Linked DNA regions of Homo sapiens: region 2 is linked to region 1. The links are contacts of gene promoters, found by promoter capture Hi-C in human tissues and cell types (Jung and others, 2019). All regions are on one chromosome and are shown on one strand. Each heading gives the region's core, a stretch centred on a gene start or on the middle of the fragment in contact. The rest is flanking DNA. Distances are from core to core; before and after follow the strand shown.

Region 1 (6,582 bases), core at 1,893-4,392:
GAGAATCCAGAAGACAGCTGGATATATGGCTCTGGAGCTCAGAAGAGCAAACATGAATGGGATGTGAAGCCATATGAGTGCTTGAGAGTGCCTAGGGAAAAGGCACACCTAGTGACCAGCTCTAAACCCTGAGCCCCAACATTTAAGGGAGAAAAAAAGAACTCACAAAGGAGACTGAGAAAGAAGGGCTAGACAGCTAGGAGAAAAAATAAAGGCATGGGAAGAAAGGAATGGGCAACATTTTTTAGTGTTGTTAAGAAGCCAAGTAAGACAAAAGTCAAATAGATTTAGCATCAAGGAAGTGGTAATTTTGGTGACAAGAGTTCCAATGGAGTCTGAGGTAGAAGCTAAACTGAAGAGCAACTAGGATATAAGTAGTCAGCAACCAAGCCCAATTCCTAAATGATAAAAATTCCAAACTCTAGGCCAGGTGCGGTGGCTCACACTTGTAATCCTAGCACTTTGGGAGGCTGAGGCAGGTGGATCACTTGAGGTCAGAAGTTCAAGACCAGCCTGGCTGAGGCAGGAGAATTGCTTGAACCCCGGAGGCGGAAGCTGCAGTGAGCCGAGATTGCGCCACTGCACTCCAGCCTGCGTGACAGACTCCGTCTCAAAAAACAAAACAAAACAAACAAACCAACAAAATACCAAACTCTAGCTTGACAACAAAGTCCTAATCATTCAAAGACTTCAACATAGGAAGCAAAGCAATAAAAGCACTAGGAAACAAAAAATGAGAAATAAAATAAAAAACTCAGAATGGATGTATTTTTCCAGTATGACACAAAACAGAAGCCATAAAAGAAAAGACGGATTAATCTGTCTACCTGAAATTTTTTCCAAGCTGTCACAAAACATATACAAATAAAAATAACCAAAATGTGAAAAATAAAAGTATTTAAACTCGTATTTTGGATGAGGACCAATTTTTTTTTAATATAAGAACTTTCACAGATCATTAAGAAAAACGAACAACCAATAGAACAAAGAGGCAAAGAATATGAACACAGTTGATAGAGAAGGAATCAAAAGGGCTCTAAAATATATGAATAGACAACATTTATCTGAAAATAAATGAAAAATTTAACTACATGTTTTTTCTCACCAATTGATATGAGATATCAATAGATTGGTAGCTACTGAAAAGTTTGATAACACTTTGAGAATTGTGGAGAAATAGGCACTCTCATACAGGCTGGTGGGAGTGTACATTTGGACAGCTTTTATGGAGAATGATTTGCAATATCTGTGAAATGTTACACATATGTATACTCTTTGACTCAGCAATTCTGTTTCTAGAAATGTTTCCTACATATTTACCTGCATTGTATAAATTTCCACATTCATTCACTATAGCTGTATCTGTAATAGGAAAAGTTGGAACCATCCTAATGTGCAATGTAGGGGTGGAAAAGGTGTGATACTTTTCTTTACCCATCTTAAGGGTCACAGCTGACACTACCATAACAAAAAACAGGTTAGCAAGATAAATGGATAACTTATTGAATCACAGTTTTATGGGATGTAAGTGCCTTCAGAAATGAAGACCCAAAGACCCAGGGAAAGCTGTCCATTTTTATGCTTAGATGAGATGAAGAATGGACAGCTGTGTAGAAATGTGATTGTACAAAAGGAGTATGATCTAATAGTAACAGACTGAAGGAGGAATCCAGCAAGTCCTGTCTGTTCAGATTCTTCTTGGCCTCTCTGTGCAGCTTTCCTTCTTCCTGAGTGTAGGGCAAGACCCTTTTGGAACGAGGGTCTTATGACAAGGTACATCAAAGAATGTCTTTATGGCCAGCTCTTACACAAAAAGGTGGGGGAAGGCTAGATTAATATTTCTAGGTTTTTCTAGAATAATGTTTCTGGCTTGCTTGGGAGAAAAGGGGTTCTAGTTTCCATGACCCGCCTTGGGGAACAGAAATTCTGGTTTCTATTATTTGCTTTAGGAGACACAGAGGGGTGGGAGACAAGAGGGCAGGAGAAAGTCAGAGACAGACTTTGCTTTTAAGGCTTCTCTGAGGCACTTTCAGTCTTCTTTAGTTCAAAGCACTCAGTGTGCCAAAGAGCCATACTCTGGGGTGTCGTTTCCTGAGCACCAACAATATTGGCCAAGGACATTGTGACTATCCTTACCAGTGCTGTGGTCCTTTAGGAAGTTGAGAAGGGGCTAGAGTTCCATGAGAGCCCAGGTGTAGATGTGTATTTGGTAGTCATCGGCTTAGGGTCAAAGACAGAAGTGATATAGAATCAGTTCATCTAAGGCAAGAGTAGGTTCAAAAGGTTGCCCCTTAAGGGTAAGGACCAAATTTTATTCATCTCCGTAAGGCCAGGATCAAACACAATCAAGATTTGATAAAACAGGCCGGGCGCAGTGGCTCACGCCTGTAATCCCAGCACTTTGGGAGGCCAAGGTAGGCAGATCACCTTAAGTCAGGAGTTCTAGACCACCCTGGCCAATATGGTGAAACCTCATCTCTACTAAAAATACAAAAATTAGCTGGGCGTGGTGGTGCGCGCCTGTAATCCCAGCTACTCGGGAGGCTGAGGCAAGAGAATTGCTTGAACCTAGGAGGTGGAGGTTGCAGTGAGCTGAAGACTGCAGTCCAGGCTGGGCGACAGAGCAACTCCACCTCAAAAAATAAAAAAGGAAAAAAAAAAGATTTGATAAAATAATGTACATATAGGACAGAGCTGGAGGGAAACCCAGGAAAGGTGAATCAGAGAGAGAAAAGACGCCAAGATAATGTGGTGACTTGGGAGCCAGAGAGACGGAGCCTGAGACTTGGAGCAGGGCACAGCACAGGAATACAACACTTTTCACCAGAACGACATTCCGACCTCTGAATCAACCCTGGAAAGGCCCTTCCATTGAACTTCTTGTGATGGAGGAAAAGAAACCCTCAGTTTCGTCATCGCAAGGCGGAAGAGTTTAAATACCATACCTCAAGATCTCCCTCCAGCCCTGACACGCGACTCCGCGGCCCTTTCAGCGTCGGTCGCCTAGGAGACAAGCGCCACTTCCGGCAGCGAAGTCACTTCCGCGGAGGTCCTGCCTCTCCCTGCGGACGGGCGCTGATTGGCCCGTTTGAAATGCGCCAGGCGGGAGCTCACCTGGGCTCTTAGCGTCGCCGCCGGCTTCGCAGAGCACCGCGCCTTAGCCGCGAAGTTCTAGTTCTTGCTGCCGGTCCTAACGTCCCGCAGTCTTCGCCAGCCAGCCGTCCCGCATGCGCGTTTGGGCGGCGTGGAGCCTGCTGCCATGAAGTCAGCGTGAGTACGAGGCCGCCGAGCAGGGAGAGAGGGCGGACGGGGGCCGAGGCCTCGGGGCTGGGGGCAGGCGTCTCCACTCAGGCCGCGGCCGTACGCGGGCAGCGCGGACAGCATCCCGCCCGGTGCTGCTGCGGCCGCGACCCCAAAGTGGGAACCTCCACGTGTGGCCGCTCCGCGGGAGCCTGGGCGCGGAGACCCCTGCCGCGTCGCCCCCCGCCGCCCCGCCTGGGCCTCCAAGGGGCCAGGAAGGGTCGGCCCGGAGCCGGGGTTGTTTTACGCCGCACCCGGTTCCCGGGGGCGGGGCAGTCCTCCTCGGGGTCCCGGGACAGCCTTTCCCTTCTCCCTCGCTGGCTGCCGCCGCCTCCAGAGTGCAGTTGGCCAACTTAGTGCGGGTCGGAGGTGGTCTCGTGTGTGGAGCAGAGCGAGTGTGCTGGGCATTGGTTAGATGGGCTCCGTTTCTGGAGAGCCCTGGCACCGGTGATCGCCGCTAGCTTTTTTTTCAGCCGAGCACCCTGTCCTTGAGGCCGAGCCCATCCGCTTACACAGGCCAGTTACTTCTGCTGTATTTTGTGGCCGCAGAGAACCTCCGCCCACATTCCTAAGCTAATATTTTCGGCGCAGCATCATTCCTGGGTAAAGAAATATTTGTCGTGCAAAGGAGAGGATTGGCTTTATTACCATTTAGGGAGTCGTTTGCAAAAGACAACTTGTTTATTAAGAGGCCGAAGTCAAAATCTTTAGATGAAAAAAATTATATATAAGAAATATACGTTGAGTTTAACTTAAGCCCACCACAAAGTATTTTGCACTGAATAACACGAATTTGCTTGTGTTTCATCTGAGAATATGTTTGGAAAAATATTTTTAAACTACAGTCGAAGCCAATAATCTTACTTAATTTTAATGTGTTAAATGTATATCTAGCCTATAGATAAATGTGAAGGGAAAAAGATGAGATGCTAGAGAAATGGTGAAATCAATCAAAATAACTTTTTGATTGCCCCTACTTAAGAAACCAAGAAATTGGCAGTTTGGGACCAGATTTTGTTTGGAGACAAAGAGTAATGTTTTGAGCATTCAATGACTGGTTGTTCCTTGAAAGTACAGGCGTAACCCTTGACGAAAGAATGGTTTCCTCCATGTGCATTTTTATAGTGTATTGAAGTTAATCGCTTGTCAGTCTGTAAAGTGTGGGCAGTTATAATTTGTAGTGCCTCTGTTAAATTGTTGCTCAAGAAAATATGCAAGCCATTTTAAGTATAGAACTAATCAGAGAATAAGTAGGTAGCTTTGGTACCAAAAATGTATTCTAAAGCAAATTTTAATTACTTTTGGATTACGCATGCCACAAACACTCTGCTACTATGATTATTAATGTTATTTGGGATGCAGTGTTTTGCAACTGCTAAGGGATAATTTACAGATAACCTAGAAAGATTGTATAAGTTTTAGGTGAGGCTTTTGTATTCGTGTTGAACTGAAAAAAAAGTTATTATTATTTTTTAATCTATGACCAGGAGAGCTAAGACACCCCGGAAACCTACCGTGAAAAAAGGGTCCCAAACGAACCTTAAAGACCCAGTTGGGGTAAGGTATCCCTGTAAATTTATGTGTGGTGTTTAAGAAACTTATCTCTTCAGTCCTTTCTGTCTTATGTGTATGCTTGGAAGGGAAAGAAGAAGACATGTGGAAGTATAATCAAAGAACATTTAGTTAAATGGATGTACTACATTGTGTAAAACTAGTGCTAGCTGTGAAATTTTCTCTATAAGATTAATTAAATTAGTCCAGTAAAATGAAGTCTTTGGTTGTCAACTGCATACCTTCTGTAATTATAATTTGGAGAGTTAGATAATTAAAAATCTCCAACTGGGTTCATATTCATCCCAGAGAATATGAACTGAGTTCATGCCATACAGTAACTGATGGCATGAGGAGAGTTCCAAACTTCTTGGGACCAAGTTTAATTCAGTTAAATTATGAAGAAAAAATGAAGCAGGCAAAAAGAATAAGAATTTTAAAACAAAACAACAAATGGCAAACAAAAAGGGTTCTTTGCTCTGAGGTATTTTAAATCTATCCCTCGTTGCCACTGGAGTGGGTCCCTGGCTCTGAGTTAAGGGAACCGGGTGCTTTGCACACAGCTGAATGAGTTTTCCTCAAGCCCCCTCCCCTGCTTTCAAAAATGTCTCTGTAGGCTGGGTGCGGTGGCTCACATCTGTAATCCCAGCACTTTGGGAGGCTGAGGCGGGTGGATCACCTGAGGTCAGGAGTTCGAGACCAGCCTGGCCAACATGGCGAAACCCTGTCTCTACTAAAATTACAAAAATTAGCTGGGTGTGGTGGTGGGTGCCTGTAATCCCAGCTACTCGGGAGGCTGAGGCAGGAGAATTGCTTGAACCCAGGAGGTTGCAGTGAGCTGAGATCATGCCATTGCACTCCAGCCTGGGTGACAAGAGAGAAACTCTGTCTCTAAATAAATAAATAAATAAAAATGTCTTTGTATATTAAATGTTGGGTTAAGCTGACAAGTTTTTAAATTGACATCCATTTCCAAGAAATTCTAACAGTTTTAAAAATCTCGTGTGACATGTTGTTGACTTTTAGAGATATTAGTAGTAGTATAACTATTATTTGTGTACAATATAATAGTGAATACACTGCAATTTGATTTTTATTAAAATTTATTTTAATTTTGTGTGTATTTAAAGTATTCTCATATCTAATACATACTTGTATTTGTCAATCTCAAGTAGCAGATTTTAATTTTCTTAGCCCTTGGAGATACAGAGCTCTTAAATTGAGAGACTGAATGTTTGTTGAATGAATGAATGAATGAGAAGCTTAAGTGAAAAATCAGGCAAAAGGTCGAACTTTCTTCTTAAAGCACCTTCCTATTTCTTCAGGTATACTGTAGGGTGCGCCCACTGGGCTTTCCTGATCAAGAGTGTTGCATAGAAGTGATCAATAATACAACTGTTCAGCTTCATACTCCTGAGGGCTACAGACTCAACCGAAATGGAGACTATAAGGAGGTAATTCTGATTTGGACCAAGTTGTTTTTACTCAATATGTTGTTTCCTGAATGACTTCTAGATTTTTAGATGTAACAAAGTTCATTTGTGAGCCCACATTTTCAAAAGACTTATTTACTTCATTATAACCACTGTATCTAAAGTGTTTTTGACTTCTGGGATGCACAGACATACCTTTGGTATGCTGGGGTTAGAGGATTGCTTTTAGCAGATAATTTCTTACACTGAGTATTATTGTTTCTTAGAGCATGTGTTAGGGATGATTTAATGTGGAATG
Region 2 (6,582 bases), core at 2,931-5,430, 1.9 Mb before region 1:
TAATAGGTCCTTTCCTATTCTGTGAGGTACAATCGTCTCTCTGGGTGATAAAGTACATATCCTATTAATATTATACTTAGGATTTTGTTCCTCTTCTTCCCTTCCAAATTCATTTTTCCATTTTGTAAATAATAAAGATTTCTGTTTACCCATTTGCTCCTTTTCTCCTCCGTCTTCCCTTCAATGGAAGCTGACATTTTACTGATGGTTTACCAGTCTAGGTATCCTGCTGAGAAGTAGATTGAGATTTAAGAAAAGCAACTTACCATTGGAATGAATGAGATTTACTGAGGAATTCTAATTTTTTAAAGTGCTTAATTTGACAGTGGTTTACCTACTGTTCAGCTGACTCAAAGTGAATTATTATGCAAAGAACTGATTTGGAGGTTCTTTTGATGTTACATGTTTCAGATATAAATTTAATTTTTCAGAAAAAATTGAATTTTTCATAGAATCTTATAGACTTCAAAGCATGTGTGCTACAAAGATTTTGTAATATATAAGTTATATAGGTGGCAAACCTTCCCATTTTGAGTATTAGTCTGACTGCATTAAATAAACAGACAGCAAGGGGAAAAAAATACAGAATTTCTGACTCAGATCATAACTCCATCTCCTGTCAAACAGCATCACTGCTAATGGTTGCTGGTTATTTTTTAATAAGACATAATATAGTTATTAAGCTAGTAATCTTTGATCAGCCCTTGATTTTAGCTGAAAATATATTGACCGTTTATTTCTGTATTTGTGATTTTTCAAAAGTATGAATTTTTTAAATCAATATGTTAACTGAAAACTATGATAAATACTATAAAAGAAAATTGTCAGTGTCACCAGGTATTCCTTAAATTTATATACTTAGCCTTGGTTTAAGAGGCCTATTTTATGTATTTTAGTCTCAGTATGCTTAGAAAATTAGTAATTGCTTCTAGAGCCTATTTTTTTTCTTCCTCACTCCATTGATTTTCAGCTTTGAAGTTGTGATATTGCATTTTAAATTTATTTTTTATTTCAACTACTCCCTATACTTCACTCTCATTTCTGCCTAGCTTGTTCATATTCTTCTTTTTCTACCTCCCACCCCTGAGCCACTTGCCTTTTTTTTTCTTTGTGGTTAAATGATTTATAAGTAGCTTTATTATTCTAGTTTTTGTGGATTTTTTTATGACATTCCCTTGAGGTATTCAGAGATTCTTTTGGACATTATCAGGGCAAAGAAGGTGATACACTATAAAAGGTTTCATGGGAGTTCCAGGGAACCCTGTGATGGTGACAAACTGTGACCCAGTATATTCCTAAAAATAGAGAGATGCCAGCCTGAATGGGCATTTTTTTCCCCTTCTCATTACCAGCTAGTGATGTGATGCTTCTCCTGATTAATCTCTGGCATCACAGTGGCTGGAATGAAGCTTCAGGGAGTAAGCACAAAGTGGTTCAGCAAACACACTCAAAAAGAGCTTAACACAGCAAATATATTCTTGCAGAAAAATAAGACCAAAATTTAGCAATATGATTAGTCCAGAGCATGTGTTGCTTTTTTGTTTGTTTTTTTTTTTTTTTTTTGAGATGGAGTCTCCCTCTGTCGCCAGGCTGGAGTGCAGTGGTGTGATCTCGGCTCAGTGCAACCTCTGCCTCCTGGGCTCAAGCAATTCTCCTGCCTCAGCCTCCTGAGTGGCTGGGATTATAGGCATGCGCCATCACGCCCAGCTAATTTTGTATTTTTTGTAGAGACGGGGTTTCTCCATGTTGGTCAGGCTGGTCTCGAACTCCCAACCTCAGGTGATCCGCCTGCTTCGGCCTCCCAAAGTGCTGGGATTACAGGCGTGAGCCACAGTGCCCAGCCGCGTTCTTTATTACTAGAAAGAAAGTGATTTTCCAAATGTACAGCTATCCTTTTAAAGTGTCACTTTCTGCCCATTTCCCACATAAGAGCATAAAATTAATGCTTGTCCAGAGCATACAGTATTTGTTATTGATTCATGTGCCTATGGTTTTATTACATATGTTTTTAATATGTTAGTAGTCATTAATTTTAAATAAGTACCTTTAAAAAGATAGGAATTGTGAAAGTTTGTTTTGTGCCAACAGTCTTATATGCATGTGAGTGCTTAATACATATCTCTGGATAGTGTGTTTAGTTTCATGTATCACAAATGGCAACTAATCTCAAAGCAGCAAAATCTTATCAATTCCAAAGAAGAAACACATGTTGGAGTCTACTATATATCTATTTCAAATTGGTTGAAATGAGGTTGTTTTCAGATCAATTGAAAAAATGCTAATAATAGTTTTTTTTCTCATGCCTGTTGTACTGAAATCTTACTTGGAGTTAGGTTTTGCTTTAGATTTTAAAGACAGCTCTTTGACCGAGCTTCTTTTAAGTTGTACAAAAATTACTTCAACCATTAGTGTTACTACTAACTTAAAGAACAGTAATGTTGGCCGGGCGCGGTGGCTCACACCTGTAATCCCAGCACTTTCGGAGGCCTAGGCCCAGGATCACAAGGTCAAGAGATCGAGACCATCCTGGCCAACATGGTGAAACCCCATCTCTACTAAAAAAGTACAAAAATTATCTGAGCGTGGTGGCGCGCGCCTGTAGTCCCAGCTACTCAGGAGGCTGAGGCAGGAGAATCGCTTGAACCCAGGAGGCGGAGGTGGCAGCGAGCCGAGATCGCGCCACTGCACTCCAACCTGCCAACAGAGTGAGACTCCATCTCACAAACAAACAAACAAACAGTAGTGTTAACTTAGTAATTTTAGCTCAAGGCTAATAATCAGGAGCGTCTACAACTAAATTAATGAGTATTCTTCTCCATTTTCTTATTTATGAAAAGAATATAGCATTACTTCATGATTATTTGAGGGTAATGAATTTATGAAGTACTCGAATTAACATTTATACCCGCCTTGTCTATAGTATGAAAACCTCTGGACTCACGTGATTGCCATCATGTGCCACGTTGATGAAATTGAGCTCTTAGATAATCAGAGTCAATGTTGATTAATATTTTTATATTTTATCACATTGTAATTTGTTAACATTGCTGAAGAGTGTTATACGTGATCAGTAACTTGCATGATTAATAAGCATTGATGTTTATACATATTCGTTTGTTTTCTAGGTATTCCAACTTTATTATATGGACTTGGCTCCTGGTTATTTGCCAGAGTCACAGAGACTGTGCATACCAGTTATGGACCCATAACAGTTTATTTTCTCAATAAAGAAGATGAAGGTGCCATGTATTGAAAGTGTGCGTCAAAGAACATAAATATCAGTGGATTTTCTCTGTGTATATGTGCAGTATTTATTTTTGATCCTTTAAAATAAAACTTTTGCAAATACTTTTTTCTTTCTACAGTATCTGCTTCTTTAAGATGAATCATTGCCCTCAAGAGGTGAAGCTTTTTATACATCGTTATATATTACATACTCTGTTTAGCTGATGTGAACTACAAACACATGAAGCTTCACACCATTTTTTCCCTAGAACTAGGTTAACCTACAGATAAAAAATGATTACAATGTAATAGATTCTATAGTTAATTAACAATTTAAATCAACTCTGAAGAGAAAATATAGATGCCCACACAAAAGAGAAGGGGGGAAAATCTTTTATGTAACAATGGAAAAAGAAGTAGAAGACATTAGGATGTATGATGGAAATATTACATCATTGGCAAATCCAAAATTGATGAGAATCTAATTGTAATCTCAAGTCTAAACCATTCAGCTGCCAGGATTGTAAATAGAAACGTTTTAAAGGCCTTGTGCCATTTACCTGGAGGAGGGGTTGGAGTGTAATGTTGAAACTTCTTGTTGCTTAAAGAGTCCAAAACCATATCGTTTGTAAAATGTAATAATAACTGGTTAATATAAGTGTAGCAAGGTGAATGAAACTCAGACTTATTAAAAGTTAAAACAGCTTTCCTATAAAGCTGTAAGAACAATTAAGATCTTCTAGAAAGATGCAGAAAAATAAATTTGGTAACTGTTTATAAAAGCAATTAACTGAAATGGTACATATCCATAGACTTATTGGCAATAAGGAGTGGGCTGAAATTTTAAAGACCTAATGGCACTTTTGCATTTGAATTTTATTAACTTAATTGCATTTTTGAAAGCCAAGTCATTTAAAAAAATGTATCCTTGGGGTAGTCACAAAATACCCAGATGAATGGTAAATTTCAGACATTTGGAGTAATTTAGGGAGAACTAAGTAGAACTATTTAATTTCTAAACCAATGGGTGTTTAAGATTTATGATCTCTCCCATAATTACAAACATACATTATATATCATTTTATGTTAATGTGTTGCTGATACTCTGCAACACTTACACATTTTTGTAGCAAAACATTTTATAAAATTCAACATTTGGATGCTTATGTCAAGTCAGTAGAGAAAGTGAGTGGAAGTGACTGAGGTGAAGGCACCAGAATAATGAAGTAATACAAACTAGCTTCGTTAAAGGTAGTCATTTTAAATGATCTACAGAGTGAACTGTTCTTCAAATATATGTGGTGTTCACTTGTCTAAAAGCAATTCTAAGTAACACTTTAATCAAAGAAGTACTTATGCCAATATATTTAGTCCAGAAGAATATACTTGACACTAGTTAAATGAATGGCTTACACAAAGGAGATAGTGTTACATTAAGCTTCATTAATAATAAAACAACTGGCTATTAGCATTTTGCAGGGAAGGCTAGAACTGATTTCCTCTGTAATGGGCAAAGTTAAATAACTATAGCTCATAAGTTTTAAGTCAAATACTGCTCATTCATTGCTGCTGGTCTTGTCAATAGTGGCTGTAAAGGTTTGGTCCCAACACAAGGCTGATAAAATGGTCTTTAATTACCAGACTATAAATACAGCTTTTCAGTAGAGTTGCACCTCTTTTCACACTGGCCTGTTTGATTTCTGATAATTTGTACTGCTGACTCTGCTTACCTGTTTTTCAATAGCTATAGTCAGTGTGACTTCTTGCCCATATGTGATAGGTAAGTGTCCTTGGAGAACATCTTTGACAAACTACCCTATTGATCTCTGTAATTCTCTGCTGCTTGCAGCATTAAACAGGGCCTTGATTTCTTGTCTGATGTGCTCACTGTATAACAAGTAAATGTAATATTTTCTTGTATTACATGAAAATCAATAGACCTCTTGCTCTTACGGAGTTGATCATGGTGAAGGATGAACTAACTCAACAATGGGTAAAGGCGTGGTTTAAAAATTTAAATATCATTCATTGGATTTATTAAGTCTTGTAAACTTGTAGTCTGAAAACAATACTTCCCATTGAACAGCAATGGTTTAAGTTTTTTCTTTAAAGCTGCATATTACACCAAAGTATTATGGCCTGAAAGGGAGAAAGTATAAATGTGTAAGTCAGGAGACTGAGTCTATTTTTAGTATTGGTGCTGTCTTACTTTTTGACCTCAGGCTAATAACTCTCCTCCTTTGTGTCTTGGTTTTTCCACCTGTAATCTGAGAAGAACGAAACAAGAGACATTTCTACCCGAAAATGTACATCAATTTTACTTTTGTCTCTGCAAAAGCTCTGTTTTTATAATCCACATTCTTCTGCTCCATTATACTTAAAGGACTTCATTAATTAAAAAATTTCAAAAATAAGGTGATGGAGAAAGAAGGAGAGATGCATTGATAGCACATGCCCACTAACCCTGAAGTGGCATGTGGGGAGCTGAAGAGGCCCTTCTCTTCTGCATATCAGTAGTTTTCTTAATTGGTGAAACCACTGATTAGCTTTTCTGTCATATTTCTTTGACAGGATTTTTATCTTTAATCCAACCAAAACTGTTTTAATAAAGGTGTACTTTTAGTACAAAACCTTGCATCTCTTCTATTGTTATTTCTATACAAATGAATTATCACGTATTGGAATAAATTTCTAGGCAAATTCCTAGGCAAAATTCTTAGTTCCTGTGTAAGTTGTGAGCCACTATAAAGATGCAGTAACCTATTTGGGAGCGTGAGAGAGGCTGCTAATACAAAAATCTCTATTTTCTTAGTGTTGATGTCCTAAAATGCCAAATTGTAGAAACAGTTATAGTTTACCACACATTTTGGGGCATTAATATTTTTCTAACGTTGACTTCCGTAAAAATTCAAACTTTTCTTTTTGAGAAGGAGTTTCAGTCTTGTTGTCTAGGCTGGAGTGCAATGGTGCGACCTTGGCTCACTGCAACCTCCACCTCCCAGGTCCAAGCGATTCTCCTGTCTCAGCCTCCTGAGTAGCTGGGATTACAGGTATGCACCACCACGCCGGCTAATTTTGTATTTTCTGTACAGACGGTTTCACCATGTTGGTCAGGCTGGTCTTGAACTCCTGATCTCAGGTGATCTGCCGGCCTCGGCCTCCCAAAGTGCTGGGATTACAGGCATGAGCCACCAGGCCTAGCTGAAACATTTGTAATTATTAAAACCGTGTATCTTTTAAAGTACATTTTACTTCATGTCATTTATATTCACCCAAAACTGTAAGCATAGAACATCTATAGTTCTTCATGAAATATCTTTTAACTCTGTTAAAGAATGATGTTTGAATAAGTGGGAT

Evidence for each region. The method cuts DNA at HindIII sites, captures the fragments that hold promoters and counts their contacts. A contact is called where the count stands out against the background at its distance.
Region 2: a contact is called between a fragment that was not itself captured here and the fragment with the promoter of KIF23 in region 1, in 1 of the 25 tissues and cell types used here (aorta).

Annotation. Positions count from the first base shown.
Region 1 is chr15:69,411,207-69,417,788 of GRCh38, forward strand. KIF23 (kinesin family member 23) reads left to right here and starts at 3,143. Exons shown (of 24, transcript NM_001367805.3): 1 at 3,143-3,270; 2 at 4,788-4,857; 3 at 6,177-6,305. The coding sequence starts at 3,260. KIF23-AS1 (KIF23 and PAQR5 antisense RNA 1) reads right to left here and starts at 3,823. Exons shown (of 2, transcript NR_132971.1): 1 at 2,946-3,823. RefSeq lists silencers at 3,313-3,432, 3,463-3,542. The HindIII fragment of the contact is 14,046 bases long and covers 1-6,582 here.
Region 2 is chr15:67,523,293-67,529,874 of GRCh38, forward strand. C15orf61 (chromosome 15 open reading frame 61) reads left to right here. Exons shown (of 2, transcript NM_001143936.2): 2 at 3,126-6,582. The coding sequence ends at 3,253. Among named protein-coding and RNA genes, the nearest start is that of IQCH-AS1, 4.7 kb to the left of the region's middle. The HindIII fragment of the contact is 3,545 bases long and covers 2,409-5,953 here.